5 separate regions of the Homo sapiens genome follow, and all the other regions are linked to region 3. Evidence: promoter capture Hi-C in 16 types of primary human blood cells and fetal thymus (Javierre and others, 2016). All regions are on one chromosome and are shown on one strand. The core of a region is centred on a gene start or on the middle of the fragment in contact, and the rest is flanking DNA. Distances in the headings are between cores, read along the strand shown. Region 1 overlaps CAPZB (capping actin protein of muscle Z-line subunit beta). Region 2 overlaps CAPZB (capping actin protein of muscle Z-line subunit beta). Region 3 holds the start of UBR4 (ubiquitin protein ligase E3 component n-recognin 4). Region 4 overlaps LOC105376819 (a long non-coding RNA gene). Region 5 overlaps IFFO2 (intermediate filament family orphan 2).

The links. The method cuts DNA at HindIII sites, captures the fragments that hold promoters and counts their contacts. A CHiCAGO score of 5 or more calls a contact.
Region 1: a contact is called between a fragment that was not itself captured here and the fragment with the promoter of UBR4 in region 3, in 6 of 17 cell types (neutrophils, naive CD8 T cells, megakaryocytes and 3 more). The highest score is 8.4, in neutrophils.
Region 2: a contact is called between a fragment that was not itself captured here and the fragment with the promoter of UBR4 in region 3, in 11 of 17 cell types (fetal thymus, megakaryocytes, total B cells and 8 more). The highest score is 9.2, in fetal thymus.
Region 4: a contact is called between a fragment that was not itself captured here and the fragment with the promoter of UBR4 in region 3, in 1 of 17 cell types (neutrophils). The highest score is 6.4, in neutrophils.
Region 5: a fragment that was not itself captured here is called in contact with the fragment with the promoter of UBR4 in region 3 in 2 of 17 cell types (megakaryocytes and fetal thymus); the score reaches 6.5 in megakaryocytes.

What each region holds. Positions count from the first base shown.
Region 1 is chr1:19,466,020-19,468,719 of GRCh38, reverse strand. The region is part of intron 1 of CAPZB (capping actin protein of muscle Z-line subunit beta); the gene reads left to right. Among named protein-coding and RNA genes, the nearest start is that of CAPZB, 18 kb to the left of the region's middle. RefSeq lists a silencer at 273-322 and an enhancer at 51-345. The HindIII fragment of the contact is 3,479 bases long and covers 1-2,700 here.
Region 2 is chr1:19,482,322-19,485,021 of GRCh38, reverse strand. The region is part of intron 1 of CAPZB (capping actin protein of muscle Z-line subunit beta); the gene reads left to right. It also overlaps a transcript of LOC105376819 not described here. Among named protein-coding and RNA genes, the nearest start is that of CAPZB, 1.9 kb to the left of the region's middle. RefSeq lists enhancers at 1-189, 190-697, 698-1,206. The HindIII fragment of the contact is 294 bases long and covers 1,164-1,457 here.
Region 3 is chr1:19,208,905-19,211,604 of GRCh38, reverse strand. It overlaps UBR4 (ubiquitin protein ligase E3 component n-recognin 4), which reads left to right and starts at 1,339. Exons shown (of 106, transcript NM_020765.3): 1 at 1,339-1,532. The coding sequence starts at 1,357. EMC1-AS1 (EMC1 antisense RNA 1) reads right to left here and starts at 1,219. Exons shown (of 2, transcript NR_135114.1): 1 at 1,046-1,219. RefSeq lists silencers at 255-324, 1,350-1,669 and enhancers at 950-999, 1,250-1,299. The HindIII fragment of the contact is 5,774 bases long and covers 674-2,700 here.
Region 4 is chr1:19,504,067-19,506,766 of GRCh38, reverse strand. The region is part of intron 1 of LOC105376819 (a long non-coding RNA gene); the gene reads right to left. Among named protein-coding and RNA genes, the nearest start is that of CAPZB, 20 kb to the right of the region's middle. The HindIII fragment of the contact is 4,630 bases long and covers 1-2,700 here.
Region 5 is chr1:18,941,439-18,944,140 of GRCh38, reverse strand. All of the region lies in intron 1 of IFFO2 (intermediate filament family orphan 2), which reads left to right. Among named protein-coding and RNA genes, the nearest start is that of IFFO2, 14 kb to the left of the region's middle. RefSeq lists enhancers at 1,741-2,258, 2,552-2,702, 2,572-2,702 and a silencer at 2,572-2,702. The HindIII fragment of the contact is 5,184 bases long and covers 1-2,702 here.

The DNA of each region.
Region 1 (2,700 bases), core at 71-2,570, 260 kb before region 3:
AGAAGAGTGAGGGGTGGGAGAGCTTTCAAAGCAGCTGGGTGGGAGGCAGGGCCATGCTGAGAAGGAAGTCCTGGGTGGAAGGAGGCTCTGATTTACCCTCTTCTATTTCAGTACACTCTCCTGCCCTGCCCTGCTCTGCCCTGCCCTGCTCCGCCCCACCCTGCCGCACAGCTGATACCTCAGAGTTTATCATTGACTTCCTTTTCACGACTCCACCCCCAACCCCTGTGTATCATCATTCCCTGAGCGCCTCCTATGTTCCAGGCCTTGGGGACCCCGAGCTAGTGAAAGGCCCACAGGCTAGTGGAGGGGAGTGGATGGCGCTTGGTTGAGTGTGAGCACCAGTGGCAAGGGACCCCTCTCCCCATCAGGAGGGAGCCCTTTGTAACCTGATAGTATCATTAAATAAAAGTTTATTGTGTTTTTTTGTTTTGTTATAAAAGCAGTATGTTTATTATGGAAAAGTTTGAAAATATAGAAAAGAGGGAAGAAACAAAAATAATTCATAATCTTAGCTTGCCAGCAGCACTGTTAACCTTTCAATATATTGTTTCAGCGTCTTAGTCTATATGCATAGTTTGGAGTTCATATTGTCAGTGCCTAGCCCCCTTTTTTAGGAGGCGGGGTCTCACTCTGTCACCCAGGCTGGAGTGCAGTGGCTCAATCATAGCTCACAGCAGCCTTGGACTCCTGAGCTCAAGGGATCCTCCTGCCTCAGCCTCTCAAAGTGTTGGGATTACAGGCGTGAGCCACTGCGCCTGGCTGAGGGCTGCATTCTTAGGCCCTGCAGGGGTGGAATGGGCACAGCTCTTGAGAGCTCTGCGGCCCTGCAGTGTTTTCAAGCTCTAGTTCCCAGCATCTGATGCTGGTGTGGAAACGATGTCGGGGAAGCATAATGAGGTGTTATGTGAACCCAAATTGTGCTTTAAACCAAAACAGCCCTGGTCATTTGGGCTTTTGTGAATGGGGAGGCTTTCGGGGGCCCTCTGGCCTCTCTGCACTGGGAAGCATGCAGCAGATGGAAGAGAATTTAATGGGGACACCTGAATCACTCAGGCAAGAAAATGGATTAAATATCTGAGCTGATACCTGTCCCACATACTGGGATAGAGGGAGGCCATTCTGATAGTAGTCTCAGGGCGGGTGTTAAAGGGCCATTTGCTCCCTGTGATTGGGCTGATACACAGTGTTTGGACCTTTGGACCTTAGCACGTTTGGGGTGAGAAGAGCGGTGACTTAGGCTAGATAAGTTTGTAGGGAGAATGAGTGTGGCACATCCGTGTCCTCTGCTGTGGGGGCCTCACTCCTCAGCGCAAGAGCTGAGCCGCTGGAGGGGACTGTTCCTCTCTTTGCCTCCCTTCTCCCTTCTGTTTGCTTTATCTTTCCTTTTATTCCTTCTTGCTTTAGCCTGCTGCACTGCAGGAATGAGCCCAGTGTGGCTGTCTACCAGCACAATGTTTGCTGGATTTGTATGCTACTTTTATTATTATTTATTTGAGGCTTTCCTTAAAATTGGCTTGAGGGCTGGGCACAGTGCCCGTAGTTGCCAGGCATGGTGGATCTCAGCACTTCGGGAGGCCAAGGTGGGAGGATCACTTGGGACCAGCCTAGGCAACATAGTGAGACCCAATCTCTACAAAATAAATAAATAAATAAATAAAAGCTGGGTGTGATGGTGCATCTGGAGTCCCAGCTACTTGGGAGGCTGAGGCGGGAGGATCCCTGGAGCTTGTGTGTTAGGATTTTTCCTATGAATAACTCCTGCATTCCAGCCTGGGTGACAGAACAACACCCTCTCTCAAAAACAAAAACAAAAAACTTTGGCCTGAGCCTAACACCGCTATCTAGCCTCTTCGTAAGCAGAAACATCTACAAAATCATGTTTGATGTGCTAGTTATATTTTTCCTATGAATATTAAATATAGGTAATTATTAAACTGCATTCATCCATATGCTCTCTAAAACCTCCCTTAAACCCCATTGGCCTGCACAGCATGCCATGGGAAATGCTGCAGGCGTGAAAAGAGCACTGTACCAGGAGTCTGGAGCGTGACTTGGGACTGCATCCTGGCCTCTGATGTGCTGGGTGATGTTGAACTATTCCCGATCCCCCATGCCTCTTTTTCTTCTTTGCATATCAGACCATGTGAGCACCAGGGTCCCTCCAGGCTCACACGTTTTGAGTGACTGCAGGATGCCATTCAGTGGTACCTCGAGGTTACTCAGCCCCTCTCACATCACCTGCGCCGTGAGGAAGCTCAGGACTCTGACCTAGACATGTGATCTATGAGCTCAAAAGATTGAAAAACGTTGCAGCTCAGGAACATTTTGTCTTCACGTGTGCTGCTTGTTTTTGTTTGGGTTTCAGCTCTCACTGTTTATTAGCCAAGGAAGCAGCCTGGTCTAGTGCAAAGAGTAAGGGCTTTGGAGCTAGGCAGGACCTTGAATAGCTCCATGCATCTGGCTCTGCCTCCCCAGTGTGGGAGTGAAAGACCCTCCTGGCGGAGCTGTGGAGCTGGTGGAGTAGGCCAGGAGCACAGATTCACCTCTGAGTCTGATCCTCCACCCACCACACCTCAGCCTAAGTGCGTGCAGTGATTAGTGTCGCCTCTGTCCCAATAAAAGGGTTGTCCTTGGTCATGGATGGTAGCTGGGCTCCTGGGGCCAGACTGCCTGGGTTTAAATCTTTGTTCCCTTACA
Region 2 (2,700 bases), core at 61-2,560, 270 kb before region 3:
GTTTCTCCCTGCCATGGCCCAGGCTAGGCCGCTGCCTCCCTCTGTCCCTCCCCCTTTGCCTTCTCCATGGCCTCAGGCTGGACCCCGGTCAGCCCCTTCTGCAGCGGCCTAGGTTTGCTTCCCCTCTTCTCCGTGGCCTCAGCCTGAATCTCCTCTTCTCTCTGTGAACTTAAATCTGGACCTCCTCTTCTCCGCCCATGGCCCCCGTCTGGACCTCACTGCCCCCTCCCCACCATGATCCCCTTCCCTGGACTTTTCGCCACTCCTAGCGTAACCTGCGTCAGCCCCGCTCGGTCCCCGCCCTGAGCCTCTCATCAGGGTCCTGCCCCCTGCCTGGTGCACGACCCAGGGTCCCCTTCCCTGTACCTGGGGCGCGCCTTCTTTGCAGCCTTTGGGGAGCGAGGGGAGCTCTCCATCAGGGATGGGGTGGTCCCGGTGCTGTGCCTTCTCAGTTGCCGCTTCTAGGGAGGCCGCCTAGGAGCCAGCGAGGGAAGGGCGGGCATCGGTGTGCCCAGAAGGCAGCGCGCTGCTCTGCGGGCCCTTCTCGAGGCTGCCGCCGTGGGTGCTGTGCGTGCGAAGCATTCTGCAGGGCAGGCCGGGGTCCACGGCGCCCGGGCCTGAGTGGGAGCCGAGGGGCGAGGATGGGTGGCCCACAGGACAAGGATGAACGCACAATCGCCCTTGTGAGGCCGTGGCCTTGGGGGGCCACCAGGCCCTGGATCCAGCATATGGCCTGGACACGATGCACCCAAGCAGGCGCAGCCTCCCCTTCCCTCTGAACTGTCAGCTTGCAAGGGTTGGAACTGCTGATTATGGAAGTCCCTCGGATCAGGTGAGCAGAACGCCTAGGGAGAGTGCTGGCTCCGCTCGTGGTGTTTGTTTTGGTAAAGAAGGCAGATGCTATCCAGACTTTTGAGGAACCTGGGGTTTCACATAGGCCCCCACAGATAGACCTGCCCTCCTGCCACTTGACCCTTCTGCAGGACAGGCCCAGCACTTAGGTTGGAAGGGCCAGAGAACTTCTTCCTGACAGGATCAAGGGATTTTTGGAGCATGTTTGTATGTGGACTTTGGGCCTCAAAGTGTTTTGAGGACCATGGTTCCTTGTTTAGTCAAGGGATGTTGCTGCTGAACGAGGGTGAGTAGTTGAGATGGGTTAAGCTTTCTTTTGATGCCTTCCTGTATGCTGATTAAAAACATGGGCAATGCCACTTTTAAGGCCTTCGGATTTGTCCAGTAACTTTGGCTGAAAACTCCTTGTTTGGGGAGGTGGGCCTGGCCCCAGGCCTTGATGGAGAACGACTTCTCCAGGGCAGTGGTGGGTGAGGACTTTGAAAGTGGGCTGAAGTTTCCTGAGTGTGCACTCAGGACAAAGTATAAGGCAGGAAGCAGCGATTCTCGCCAGGTGATGGGAAAGTGCCTCAGTCCCCCAGGAGGAGCACATGACACCTGAAGCTTCTCAGGAGTCTTGTACTCAGCTCTCATCTGAAAAGGCTGGAAAGGGTGGAGGAACTGTCTGCCAGTCACTGTGGTGTGCTTCACCTGTACAAGCTGTTTTCATCCACAGGAAGCCCTTCTGGGGCTGTCCCCATTTTATAGATGAGGCAGCTGAGGCTCAGGAGGTGGAGTGACTTATTCAGGGTGTTGCTCAGCCAGTGGAGGAACCACTGTTGGTCAGTGGAAGCCCATCTGGCAGGCTCTAAACTGTTCTTCCCATTGTACCAAGCTGCTTGTATGTCAGAAGGTTTAATGATACCGTTTGAAAAACATAAAATGGGATATTCAAACATGGCAAGGGGGGAGGAGCAGTATTTATTGCCCATGTATTGTATTTTAGATCCTTTGTATAGGAAATCATGTTTATAGTGAAATAGCTGTATGGTGATACAGGCATATTTAGCATGGGCCAGAATGAGCTCTTGGAGGGCAGAGATTTGTGTCTTGTGTTTTCCGCAGCTGTATCCGTGGGGCCTAGAACAGCACCTGGCGTTGGAAGAAACCACTTGGAATGTTCTCTTTGGCATGTGTCTGTGTCCATGAACTTACCTGCTTGGATTTCATATTCATTCTCTCAGTCACTTGTTCTTAGTATCCCTTAGCCTTGTAATTTCTGACTGCTTATTGTTACGTTTATCCCCTATTTGAATACTCTGACCATTAAGCCGGTGTAGATGGTTGGCGTAGGACAGAAGTGGTGGTGTGAGGTTGCATTGTAGGTAAATGAATTCAGATCACCATGTTTTTCATTTTCAGTAGATTTGATGGTAGAGAATACAGCTAGATCTCTGTTATCCATTGAGGGAAATAGTGACTTGAGAATCTAAAATGCATTTGACTTTGGAATGAATTCCATGATTTTTGTTGGCATGAGTTTCTCCTTCCCAGTTAAAATGCATAGGCAAATGGAATTTATTTGCATTCCCTTAGCAGGTAATAATCTTACCACTGTCTGAGTGCTGTACAATTTCAGAGCACCGTTCCTTACACAGCTTCAGTTTCTGACTTGGGAATTATTCTTAGTTATGATGATGGTGAGGCTTTAGCAGGAACGGGGACTAGGGAGGCCCCCTCAGGAATTGCTGCTCCAGCTCACAGATGGTTTTGCCTGGCAGGAGCTGATGGGAACTTGGTATTGTTACAAGGTGAAACAACATAGTTGACATTAATGTCTCTTGATGTGGATAAGACACATTGTTCAAC
Region 3 (2,700 bases), core at 90-2,589:
GACCGGCTTTGACTTGACTGAATTTTATTTCGAATGTAAAGATGCAGGCTGGGCGCAGTGGGTCAAGCCTGTAATCCCAGCACTTTGGGAGTCCAAGGTGGGAGGAACCTAGGACTTCGAAAACAGCTTGGGCTACGTAGGGAGACCTGTCTCTTAAAAACAAACAAAAAAAATTAAGAGTGGTGGCCTGCACCTGTATAGTCTCAGCTACTGGGGAGGCTGAGGCTGGAAGATCACTTGAGCCAGGGAGGTGGAGGCTGCAGCCAGCTGCAACTCTGCCACTGCACTCCAGCCTGGGCTATTGGGCGACAGAGCAAGATCCTGTCTCAAAAAAGGTAAAGTAGGTCATATCTTAATAAAAGTGCAGATTAATCACTAGGTACCAATTCATTTATCAGTGTTACACACCAAGAACAAAAGCTCTTCCTAAACTTAGGGGGAGAATTTCAGGGCTTTAGGAATTTGAAACCGTCTTCACAGTTCCTTCCCAGTCTTATTTAGGCCAGCTGTAGGCCACAGGCTAGAGCTTGAAGCCGTCCACCAATATCTCACTCACAGGACTGTCCTTAATGCACGAATACCTTTCCTCGAGCAAACTGCTTTTCCCTCTTAGACCTTGTAGCCAGATCATTTTACCGGCAAAAGTCTCAGACATCTCCTGTGAATAAAAGCTTACATTCTTTCCTTGCCAGTAGAAAAAAGGGGAACACGTAAGCATACGTGGCAAATTGCAAAGAGGGATGCATTGTACGAGCTGGTCAGATTGTTAATGAGGGCAATCCAAACAGAAGAGATTTGAGTGCTAAGGGAATACGGATCAGTGATTAAAAGGTGTTGTGAGAGGGAGAAATCTTTGTAAACTATGGCGCTCTTTAGTATTACTATTGGGGGGATCTAGGCAGGGGAAGAAGCAGGTGAAAGCGTTTTAGGCTTCGGCCTCCTCTTGTCGTCCTTAGCTGTCCCAGGCCAGGGCCATTCTATACGCCGAGGCGTAGTCAACTCTGCTGCCCTAGACTTGCCCACTGAACCCATGCCCCAGACTCACCTTTACCCGCTGCCCGGAAGCCAAGTCGCTACCACCTGCTTGAGCAACTCCCACCGCGCAGGCTCAGAAGTTAACGCTCTCCCGCCTTTCCCCGCTGCGCTACCTTCTGAGCAGGCGCAGCGTCTCCGATCCGTTCCCTCGCCGCGGCTCGACCCCGGTGAGAGCAAAGGCCGCTCCGCGCGTCGCGTTTTTGACCCATGACGGCGGCGCGCAGTCTGACGCGACAGATTGCGTCACTTCCGCCCCCTCCTGGGAGGCGGCGCTGGGCCGGTGGCAAGCCCCCGGAGGGAGCCGCAGTAGTACGACGGAAGATGGCGACGAGCGGCGGCGAAGAGGCGGCGGCAGCGGCTCCGGCGCCGGGGACCCCGGCAACGGGGGCGGACACGACCCCGGGCTGGGAGGTGGCTGTGCGGCCCCTGCTGTCCGCGTCCTACTCCGCCTTCGAGATGAAGGAGTTGCCGCAGCTGGTGGCCTCAGTCATCGAGAGGTACCGGGCGGCGGCTCTGGCGGGCGACGCTGTTGTGGGGGGAGGGGATTTCGAGCCGGATCGTCTGGACCCGCTTTCCGGGCCGCCCCCTGCCCCCTTGAGGATCCCCGCCACAGCCACGGCTTCGGGGTCCCGGGCCCGGGGAGACTGGCTTGCCTGGGTTTCCCTCCGCCAACGCATGTAAATCACCTCTACCTCAGTTTCCCCTCTCGAGCAAAACTTTAGCGGCCTCCCTGCGGGAGGGCGTGGCCGGACATGGTTGAGAGTGAGATGCATTCGCCCTCTTAAGGGAATGTTCACGGGGCTGCCCCTTGGGTCAAGTCACAGATGAGTTTGCATTTCTCGCCCGCACTCATCCTCCTAGCCTGGGCCGGAGCGGAGCCGTACGGTATAATTTAATAACGGTCTCCCCGCGGTGCTGTAATCAGTGGGGGCACGTGCTATTTCTGTGACTGAAGCCACTAGCTACATTGATGACCTCTTTTTACGTTGCACTCCTTGTGCATTCCTACTGTATCGGTCTTTGATTAAAAACATTTCAGTGTGTGTCTGAGAGATCATTTTCCCAGAGGATGTGTGGTGTGTGTGTTCTCTTGCTGCCTCCCATCCCCCTCGCATTAAAATATCATCACATTCTTTTACAAACGGTACTATCTGTTGGTTTCCTTTTGTGTGTTTTTGTCTTTTTGCACAGCGATTCTTAGCTAGTGACAGTTATGTAGGTACAAAGATGGTGATCTCAGAGTGCCTGCCTTTTCCTGACATACTGTGCTCAGAGCAGTCTTTCATTAGTTTAATGGTAGACTTTTGCTTTTAAAGCCAGACTGACTTTCATTTTTCTAGCCATACCTCATTTCAGCAACTCCCTGCAATTGTTAACTGGGTCATTTTAGCTTCACGATGACAAGGGTATATCTAGCTGCTATCCAGAGGTTAAAAATTGCTATTTGTTACTCAAAGGAGGCCCACGGTTTGACAAATTGTTTTTGTGCTTTTTCTTGTTGTAGACTTGTAATCCTTTGGATGCAGAGTTTTTAACAAATTATAATAAAATAATGGTTGAGTTTGGTAACTTCACAGTCAGCTTTACAGACGGATTTTGCTATCTAATCATCAGGCCAGGAATGTTCTGAAGATGTAAACAGGTTTCAAATATACTACTTTCAAA
Region 4 (2,700 bases), core at 194-2,693, 300 kb before region 3:
CACCTGTGAACCAGGAATAGGGCGTTCACCAGACACCAAATCTGCTGGCGCCATGATCTTGGACTTGCCAGCCTCCAGAACGGTGAGAAGTAAATTTCTGCTGTTTATAAAATGCTCAGTCCATGGTAGTTTGTTATAACAGCCCAAATAGACCAACACACCTGCTGGATGCTAGAAGTGGTTCTAGGTGCTTGGGATTCAGCAATGAACATCATAAAGCACCCTCAAAGAGGATACATTTTTGCATGCAAAGACTGAAAGATCAGCAACAAAGAAATATAAAATAAGACAAGGTAAGTGGGGAGTGCAATTTTTTGTCCAATGGTCAGAGAAGTAGGTTGTGCTCACCACTGTGACAAGATGGAAGCTGTGCTCACCACTTGCATTACAGTGTACAAGAATGTAATCTCCATAAGGACAGGGCCCTGGAATCTTGTTTCCCTTACAGCTCCAGTCCCTAGCACAAATTCTGGTTTCTAGTAGGTGCTCAATAAATATTTGTTGAATGAATGAACAAATAGCCTCAGTCTCAGATCTGCCGGAGAAATGTCCATTTTAGGGTAGGCATGGGATTTTGAATTCACCTCCTATGAGCTGACATTTATGGAGAAACTTGCGTGCCCCAGGCACTGTGCCAGCCTCCATGGCTGAGTACAGCCCTTCCCTTGAGCATCTTCATTGGAGAAGATAGCGGCGCTTGCAATTTAGTGGTCTAGAAGAGAAGGCAGCAAAGAGAATAAAGGAAGAACAGGAGTTAAGTGCAAAGAGGAAGCGTTTCAGGGTCAGCAAAGAATTCGGCAAGTGTATTGCCTGACATCTTTTTCTTGATGCAAAAAATAGCTAGTTCTGCTTTTTGGACTGGGGCTCGCTGAGTCAGGGGTTCAAAGAGAATAGCATGAGGATAGGAGCAGTAAATGTCATCTGCAGCAGATGGTGATGCCCCAGAGACAGACCGTGGCCTTGAAGATGCTTCCCTCCACCGACTCTGGCCCAAGAATCAAGGTCAAGGGCAGGCAACCGAGCTCAGCAACCTGGGGTCCCGATCCCAGCCTCTCAACTGGGCCAACCCTACCCAAGAACATCACCGTTGTTCCACCCGCTTGGACTCCACACCAGGCTCAGTGGAGTCTCAGAGTCCATGGGTGTGAGAAGAATAATTCCAGCATCTGTTATTAACCATCATTTCCATTGTTTTGGCTTCACTTTCTCTTTGGCCCTGAGAACACTGGGTCAGTGCTTCTTTGAGCACAAAACGACTGATTTGCCAGGTCTTTGTTCAGCCTCACAAAAGAAGGGGATGATTATTACAAGAACAGATTTTGCATTCCATATTTACCCCAGATGACACTGCCTTGATCCCTAAAATAACTCCAGATCGCCTGGGTGGAACTTGCTTGTTCCTTTTCATCTTGCTATTTTGCAATTGTTTATGGAGAACATCACCATAGTGATATTATCAGAGCAGGGCAGAATGAAACTCCAAACTCTGGGTTGTTATTGGTTTTTCCTTTGTACCTCGGAACATGACTTTTTCACCTCAAACCTTCTCTATTATTTCTTATAAGCATTACAGTTCTCAGTTCCAACTCAGCCAGCATCACTTTCTGACTCATCCCCAGCAGTTAAAACCACAGAGGTGGTCCACACTGGGATGAGGGATGGAAGTGCTTGGGTTGAGTTTCCAAATTGGAAACTATTTACCAGAAATCCTCTTTCCTTCAGATAAGACTGGGGTCAAAGTACTAGAGTGTTGAAAGAGGCACTAAATAAACTAAGAATCTAAAGGACCTTCAGTGTTTGGGCCAAGGAACATGGTGATAGAGTTCAACAAATAAACACAGCTGGCGTAGGGTGAGCCTTTAGCAAACACTTATCTTCTTGATTTTGTTTTTTTTTTTTTTTTTTTTTGCTCATAATTGTCAACTTGGCCCAAAGCCTTTATTATAGCATTCTCATACACTGCTGCCAGTGGTGTGTATTTGTACAACTTTTTAATGAAATTTGGCAATGAATAGCAAAAGTCTTGACAATGTAGCTCTTCCTTAGATGCAAAATTCTACTTGTGAGTGCTAAAAAAATAATTAGGGATATGAGCAGAAGGATACATACAAAGATGTTTATTGCTATTGATGGTGAAAAACTGGAAACAACCAAACTGTACAACATTAGGGGGTTACTTAAAAAAAATCAAAATACAGGACTGGCGCAGTGGCTCATGCCTATAATCCCAGCACTTTGGGAGGCTGAGGTGGGAGGAGCACTTGAACCTAGCAGTTTGAGACCAGCTTAGGCAACACAGTGGGACGCTGTCTCTACAAACAATTTTTAAAAAGTAAAACAACAAAAAAAATCATGACCCCCACTCCATGCAATGGATACTGAGCCACTATTAAAAATTATGCCGGTTGGGCGCGGTGGCTCATGCCTGTAATCCCAGCACTTTTGGAGGCCAAGGCTGGCAGATCACTTGAGATCAGGAGTTCGAGACTAGCCTGGCCAACATGGTGAAACTCTGTCTCTACTAAAAATACAAAAATTAGCCAGGTACAGGGGTGGGCATCTGTAATCCCAGCTACTTGGGGGGCTGCGGCAGGGGAATCGCTTGAACCCAGGAGGTAGAGGTTGCAATGAGCCGAAATCACACCACTGCACTCCAGCCTGGGTGATAAAGCGAGACTCCATCTCAAGAAAAAAAAAGAC
Region 5 (2,702 bases), core at 201-2,700, 270 kb after region 3:
TATAGATGAGAAAACTGAGGCCCAGCGAAGGAGAGCAGCTACCTTGAGGTCACGCAACAGAGCAGGGGCCGGAACCCAGGTATTTTCACCCTGTCCCCTCCACAGGACTCCCCTTAAACCCTTGAGCTCAGGGCTCCCTCTGGGGGCTGCTGGCACTTTCAGGAGGGGTTTGGAAAACTCCCAGAGGACAGAGCACTTGGAGCAGAGAAGCAACTGCCAAAGGCATGACTCGGAGCCTGTACAGTGGGGTCCGCAGAGACAGGGCCCTGCTCCTTGACCAGACATCTGGGTCCCTGGCGCTGTGGATGAAGCTCCCTCCACCTACAAAAGAGACATCTGAGGTTGCCCGTGGGGTTTGTCTCCATGTCGCAAAAGGCACTTCTCCAGCCTCTGGCCTGGTTTTGAGGTCTTGGGATGCTGACACTGATCTGCCTTCCCGATCTGCCAGCCCTGTGCTTGGCTGCACCATTTCTCTGTGCCTCGTTTTCCTTTTGTATGGGATGGGATGGGATGATGATACCCACAGGGTGTTGGTGAGCCTGATTCAGGAAAGGCTGCCCTGTCTCCTTATCTCTGGGTTAAGCCCTGGAGCTGGAAGTCTTGAGAACTTTGCCTAGAATGTTGGAGTTGGGTGAACCGTAGAGGCTGATCTTTCATTCCCCATAAAGACCATGTTTCCAGGGCTCCTTGTCTGGGCATGTGGCCTGACAAATAGTACTTTGGGATTTGCACATGTTTTTATATGGAAAGACATTTTTTTTAAGACAGGGTCTTGCTCTGTTGCCCTGCCTGGAGTGCTGTTGAATAGTCACTGCTTGCTGCATCCTTCAACTCCTTAGGCACAAGCAATCCTCCTGCCTCAGCCTCCCGAGGAGCTAGGACTTCAGACACACACCACTACACCCAGCTAATTTTTTTTTAAAAAAAATAATTTTTGTTGAGATAGGGGTCTCGCTATGTTGCCGGGGCTGGTCTTGAACTCCTGGCCTCAAGTGATCCTCCTGCCTTGGCCTCCCAAAGTACTGGGCTTACAGATGTGAGCCACCATGGCTGGCTGAGTCTTAATATTACATTGCTGTTGGTTTCACACTTACCTTTAAATAAAATATTAGCATTTAAAACATCAGGACTTAAATTTGCCGGGTGTGGTGGCACGAGCCTGTAATCCCAGCTACTTGGGAGGCAGAGGCAGGAGAATGGCTTGAACCCGCAAGGTGGAGGTTGCAGTGAGCCAAGATCTTGCCACTGCACTCCAGCCTAGGCGACAGAATGAGACTCCATCTCAAAAAAAAAAAAAAAAGAAATAATATAAAATAAAACATCAGGACTTATCTGACTTGGAGACTGATGGCCTGAACTCAGCAAGCTACTGCTGGCAGAGCCAGAATTAACCTGATGCCAAGTTGAGGGACCTCCAACTTGTAGGTTATTCCTTTTCTGAGCCCTAAGACATAATTCAATTGTGGGGAATTAAAAAGAAATTGCTTCATTTGCTCTTGCTTCATGTTTCCTGTTGGCCCGTGATTTGGGCCTTCTCTTGGGTGGGAACTCTGGCTCTGAGGTGACACTGCTTGGAGTTGTGTTACTGCTCTGAGCCTCAGTTCTCTCATCTGTAAAATGGGGATGACAATCTTAGCTGATGAGGTTGCGAGGATTTGATGTTGCCTGCAGAGTGCTACGTGTGCTGCTGGCCCCTCAGCTGTTACCGCTCCCTCCCTCCTGCCCTGGCCTGGCTCCCACCAGCCCCCAGGCCCCAATTTGTACACATAAAAATGTGAACAAATGCCAAAGTACTATTTGTCAGGCCACATCCCCAGACAAGGAGCTCTGGAAACATAGTCTTTGTGGGGGAATGAAGGATCAGCCTCTATGGTTCACCCAACTCCAACATTCTAGGCAAAGTTCTCAAGCCTTCCAGCTCCAGGGCTTACCCCGGAGATAAGGAGACAGGGCAGCCTTTCCTGGGTCAGGCTCACCAACACCCTGTGGTTCTCATCATCCCATCCCATCTCATACAAAAGGAAAACGCGGCACAGTGAGAACTGCCTGCTCCCTCCCGCTTTGGCTGAAGACTGGCCTTTTGTGTTCTGAGCACTTCCTCTCCCCGGTAGAGCCGCCTGGGCAGCCAGGAGGAGGTCATGTCCCCTCTCTTCTCGAGCAGACTGTCAGCACAGGGTGACTGGGAAGGCAAGACCTGGCATTCAAGGCTGTGTCCAGTGCAGGGTGTCACCTGGAGCCTGTGGCTCCTAGGAGGGCCTGATGGAATGTGGACATGAATGGGGGAATCTTTCCCTGTCCCCGCCTCCCTGGGGATCATGGACTGTCTCAGCCTCCCCGTTGTGTGGATTTGGAAGCAGCCTCAGGGGGTCACATTGCTGGTCTGAGGTCTCACTATGAGGTAGGGCCAGGATCAGGATTCGAACCTGCCTCTTGCAGACTGTTACCCAAAGTACTCTCTGCCACACATGCAAGCTCATTCTGGCAGGCTGAGATAGGGGAATTGGAAGACAGGGGTTCAAGCCCTGCCCTGCACCCAGCAGCAGCAAGGCAGCCGTTCCTCCTTCTGGGCCCCTGTAGGCGATGGGTAGATGGTTTCTGTGTTTTCATAGACTGCCTTGCGAGGCCTTGTGGGTGAAGGGCCCAATCCCAGACCTTGGCAGAGGAGTGACGTTGAAGGCTGGCTTGGCATTGTTTTTCCAGAG